Regions from separate parts of the Homo sapiens genome. Here region 2 is linked to region 1. The links are contacts of gene promoters, found by promoter capture Hi-C in blood cells and fetal thymus (Javierre and others, 2016). All regions are on one chromosome and are shown on one strand. The core of a region is centred on a gene start or on the middle of the fragment in contact, and the rest is flanking DNA. Distances in the headings are between cores, read along the strand shown. Region 1 holds the start of CLINT1 (clathrin interactor 1). Region 2 has its middle 31 kb from the start of LINC02202.

Region 1 (2,700 bases), core at 82-2,581:
TAAGATTGGCCTTTTAAGACGTCTTTTCAGGCTTTTGCATTTCTGACAAACGGATGACCCCACCCAGACCAGCCACTCCTCTGCTGGCCCTCCATCAAGAAGCCGATTCAGCAAAGGAGAACCATTTTCCATACTCCTCTGATTGCATCCCTAACCAATCAGCAGCACCCATGCCCTAACCCTCTGCTCACCAAACTATCTTTGAAAAACTCTAGCTTCCAAATGTTCAGGAAGATTGATTTGAGTAATAACTCTGTCTCTCAAGTGGCATGGCCAGCCTCATGTCAAACTCTTCACTGCAATGACTTGGTCGCAGTGAATTGACTTTATCTGTAAAGTGGGCAGAAAGAACCCGCTAAGCAATTACACTATATGCAATTATCTTAAATGTTTCCTTGATTATTATATGTTTCTTCCAATTACGTTTGAATTCCAAGAGAGCTGGGTCTTTAACTATATTCCCCACTTCTGGAACATACAAGATGCTCAATAAATATTTGTAGAATGAAAAGAACTGTAAAATTTCAGCAGATGGATCAAATGAAACTTAAGGTTGCTTGTAGCTTTAACATGAGCATTGATAAAAATGAGTAAGTAGAGAAGGAAGTGATGACAACCATTGCAACAAAGCAATGGAAGCAATGTGCATATTTATCCTTAAAAAACACAAACCTGTCATATGTATGTGTATGTGTGCGTGTATATATAATGTTGGCTTTTTAGTTTCCCGTGGAGTGTGAACTGAGTTTCTGAGGTTTATAGTAAAGCATTTAACAAGGATTTCAGGTAGTTGTCTAAATATAAAACATTGTATCATAGAATTAGAGCGGAAAAGGATTTAGAATACAAGTTCTTCAATTTTACAGGGGTGGAAACTAAGGCCTAGAGATCTAAGTGTACTTGGGCATTGGGAAATAAATACAGCGATGTGTCTGTCGATGAGGAATGCGTATGCCAATCATACTTCTGTATAATCATTACTAATAACATAGTAATACTGCCTTACATTTGAAAAGTGTTTGAGTGTGACTAGACCCTGCACCAGTGGTTCTGAAACTTGAGCGTGATCAGAATCACCTAGAGGATTTGTAAAAGCACAGATCGCTGGGCCCCACCTCCAAAATTTCTGGCTCGGTAGGTCTGGGGCCGGGGACTGGGAAAGCTTAAGAGAAACCATCCCAACTCCTCTCAGCTCTCCCAACTCAACCTCTCAGCTCTCCCAACTCAACCGGCCGAGCTCGGCACTCAGGGAAAACTACAAGTCCCGGCGTGCCCCGCGCGCAGCGGCGGAAAGTCGGACACTTCCGCTCCACGCAGCGCCTGTGCTGCCGCGTCTCGACGTGTCACCGGCGGCGCCGCTGCTGTGGCAAAGGAAGGAGCTGACTGGGGGAGTTCGAGGCGGCGGGCGGCGGTGACCCCGGCCTGGAACTGCCCCGGTACGGAAGTGTTCCGGGGTCCGTGGGGAGCAGGAGAGGGAGGCGGCGGACCGTCCCGCGCGGGGCACGATGTTGAACATGTGGAAGGTGCGCGAGCTGGTGGACAAAGCGTGAGTATCGGGGGGCAGTTGTGGCCGAGGCCCACGTGGGGGAGGGGGGAGGGGGAGAAGGAGCTGGCCTTGGGCTAGGGGTTGCCCACGTCACGCCCCCTGGCTCTGCCAGCCCCATCATGGCGGCGGCCCGCTCCTTCCCGGCCCCGGGCCTCATCCCCGCTGGCGAGGCTGGGGAGGGACCCTCCCTCGTTTTAAAAAAAAACATCCTCTTGGCCACCCTTCTCTCCTTTCCAGGCCTTCCCGTCCCTTCCCCTATTCCAACCCCTGGGTGCCGACGCTTTGGTCATAAGGGGCGGGTTGTTTGGCGCTGGGTCACTGCCCTGGCCGGAGGACTGTCTTGGCCCCAGGCCGTGGGCTTTGCCTCCTGGGGAGCAGGGAAGGTTTGGGGGTGGGGGGCACAATGCACTGGTTCCCTGTGTCCCTCAAGGTGTAGTACGGAGAGACCTTAGACCTGGTTGGGGTGTGTCTTTTATCTTCCTTGCCTCCTCTTAATTCCTAATGAACCTGAAGTGTTGGAGTGGGTGGTAGTAGTGTAACAAGTGGCTATTGTGGTCAGCCTGAAGTTACTCAAGAAGACACTCATCCTTTGCTTTTCTAACACTAGTGAAAGTAGATCACTATATGACTTCTTGCGATTTTTTCTTCTGTTTCTTTTTCCACTACACATCATTTTTGGTGTGCTACTTGTTCCATTCGATTAAATTAAGAGGTCATTAAGAAATGTCCTCTTAAGGAAAAAAACAACCCAGGTTTATATCCTGTTGATCTGCTTTTAAAAGCAGGTAAAACGACCAGTACGTAGTTGATTTCCTTTAAGACTGAAATAACTTTAGTCTCTTACTTGCACAAGGAAAACCTTAACTTTTAAAATGAGTATATCAGGTATAACAGTGGTTAAGTAAGGTCTTCTAGGCCAGCAGGAAATAAAGTTTAAGAATTTAAGCAGTCCTCTTCCTTTGGGGCTTTAATGATTATGCAATAAGTGTGGTGAGAAAAACAGTTGATTTGTGCCACCCACCTAACCTAAAATCAGGAAGTATAGATAGCAAACTGTTTTCTTGACACCAGGAAACAAAGTAATTTCCAGTGCCTTGTCTGATACATCAGATAGAACTTAGAGCTTGACCATATTTTTATATTTTCTGTGCTAC
Region 2 (2,700 bases), core at 179-2,678, 1.3 Mb before region 1:
GGCATGATTAGAAATCATACATTATTAAATGTTTTCTTCAACATATATTTAAGCTTTCATTTTATTTTGGTATCCATTTCAGTTTTGTATTGGTTTAACTTCCCTTTAATGTTTATTTAAATTTGCCTTTACATTCAGTCTTCTTCCACTTAAAACACTCACTCTCTTTTTAACAGAGGAGGTGATATATACCCCTCTGCTGTCAATGTCGAAGCAATTACGTGCCACCAAATGGCTTGTGATGTGCCATCTCCTCCTGATAAAGGCTCATGATAGATAGGATGTGGCAGAGGTCAGGAATTCTGCTGAGTACAACCTGAGGGTATCCTTCAAATTGCTTGAGCTTTCTCCAAATCCCCTAGGACACAATCAGAAAACGAGTCCCCTTTAATTTTGGTGCAGAGCTTTTTTCTTCCTTCTTCACAGAGATTCAGAGTGAAGATGCGTTAGGCTGAGCCATCTAATTGCATTCTTTACTCCCTAACATTAGTTTAGCCCTTTCCTGCTTTGTATCATCTATTATAATTACTAATTTGCTGGCCACAATTAGCATAGGGGGTTTTATAGAAGCAGAAACAATTTCTTAGCTGCCCAATGTTACTAAATAATTTAAAAAGGGGAAGACAACGAATTTCCATCAAATGTGCTTTGTTTTCTTAATGCATGTGTTGCCATTAAGGAAAACCATTATAAGGTAAAGAAATCAGGAAATTCATAAAGATCAATACACCAATTATTTCCTGCATTATAAAAGTTACCTCTTCATAATTTTCTTTTCCTGGTGAGGTAGATTTAATTTGCTATTAGAAACTCAAAAGCTGAGAGGTCAGTTTCACTGTTCAAAACAGACTGCTCTTTGTCTAGCAGGAAACAATGTTTTCCCAAAAAAAAGTCCAGAGAGATCACATCCCCCAAAAAAATCATCATTGAAAAGGTTGATTATGAATCAATAGAAACTTTTTTTTCTATAACAAATTATGTTGAACTATACTGTACCCCCCAGGCCCCACCCCCAAATCAGAGTAAGAATCTCTTGGGGGTTTTTTGTTTGTTTTTTGTTAGTTTTCATCACTGTAACTATGCTGAAATTCAAAGCAGGGTGGGCAGATATTACACAACTTCATGAAATATACTAAATATACCAGTGGAAATCAAATGTGAGGCATGGTTAGTTTCTGCTGGCAGACTTACTTGAGATTTTCTGAAGAATTCTTCAGGTTTCCTCCAGCCCCATTTGTTCCTGATGCTGATCAGTGTTGATGATTCCATTATCTTCTTTATGTTACAGATTCCTCCCTCCCCCAATGTTCACTCTATTGTTTTATTATGTGTTGACATCAGCCTGCGGACGATGGTGTTCTGGCAGAGTCCCCTTCCGTGGCTTTCTGAATACCACTGGTAAGTGTACTTTGAGCCTCTTTCTGGAACTATATCCCCAGGGCTGCAAATTATACTTGATTTCATTGTTTGCAAGTGTGTAGAGCCAACATGTCTGTTTAAGATACTGAGCCAAGTATTGTCTTTCCAGTACATCTATAACTATTGATTCCTATGAGAGAGGCCTAATTATATTTGTGCTTATCTTAAAACCACAGCAATGAAAGAGGCTTTAAAAATTCCTTCATCTCATCTAGGGCCTGGGTCCGTCCCCATCCCCTATCAGCCTTCTGTGGTACAAGTAATAGAAACCAACTCTGGGCAAGTTAAACCAAAAAGGGTATTTGTGTTATTGAAAGGGGGTCTCCAGAAATAAAAAGGCAGCTGAAGAACCAGGCTAGGACGACTCAGGAACCATGAAGATTCTGGGGATCTAGGTGACAGGCACTGACCAGTGGTGTCACCCAGTGGTGACTCCAAGGAGATATTTGAGGATATTTGGAGGAACTTTAAACCCCTCCATCCTACCCTAATTCTTTGTGTGAGAAGTTGAGCTTTCTTACCTTTATGCAAAATGCTATACGAAGATAGGTTAAAGTGGTCCCCCAAATCCTGCCCTCAACAGACTGCCAGCCCCATCCCTTCTACATAGAAATTATAAGGCTGCCATTGAAACAACCACGGGGGGTGGTCAGCTTTGCATAGTCTTCCCAACCCCATACTTAACCACTGCAGAGAAGAGAGTCTTGGGGAAGAAAGTCCATCTGGACAATCTTAGGTGTGTGACCACCCTTCGGCCAGTGTCACTGTTTAAGTCAAGGCTGCCACAATAGAGGAGAGGTAATTCTTCACAGGGAAAATTGAGGGCTGTTCCCCAAGGGAAAGAGAATGGCCAAAAAACATGTGGCCACTACCTTACCAAGAGAGTGAGAATCACTTTCAGTGATATTGGCTGTGCTGACTCTTCAAGTAGCCTCTTGAGAAGATCTGGTGGTTGCAAATCCTGCCTTTCCTTGAAGAGAGCTCAGCCACCCACACCCTTCATGGCTTTCCTCTACTGATCCTGGCTACACATTCTTGAGCTCATCCAAAGCACGTCTTTCAGATGTTTGATGTCAGCTTGCAAGTCAAACTCTCTTTGCAAGTTGCTCTCTCCTTCTCTAGATATTTTTGGGAGCTCTGAACTAGCTATTTTATTTTGCTGGGTTGCGCTTGCCCCAAATCCTTACATGCCTGACTCTATTTCACCCTTCAGTTCTCAGCTCAAATTTCATCTTCTAGATGAGACCTAATCGGACAAATCAAGCTCAAGGCCCTCGTACT

Evidence for each region. Contacts are between HindIII fragments. The CHiCAGO score rates a contact against its expected background, and 5 or more counts as called.
Region 2: a contact is called between a fragment that was not itself captured here and the fragment with the promoter of CLINT1 in region 1, in 3 of 17 cell types (total B cells, naive B cells and fetal thymus). The highest score is 10.2, in total B cells.

What each region holds. Positions count from the first base shown.
Region 1 is chr5:157,857,776-157,860,475 of GRCh38, reverse strand. It overlaps CLINT1 (clathrin interactor 1), which reads left to right and starts at 1,331. Exons shown (of 12, transcript NM_014666.4): 1 at 1,331-1,546. The coding sequence starts at 1,506. RefSeq lists enhancers at 1,043-1,282, 1,120-1,701. The HindIII fragment of the contact is 1,599 bases long and covers 1,165-2,700 here.
Region 2 is chr5:159,129,759-159,132,458 of GRCh38, reverse strand. No RefSeq gene overlaps it. Among named protein-coding and RNA genes, the nearest start is that of LINC02202, 31 kb to the right of the region's middle. The HindIII fragment of the contact is 2,746 bases long and covers 56-2,700 here.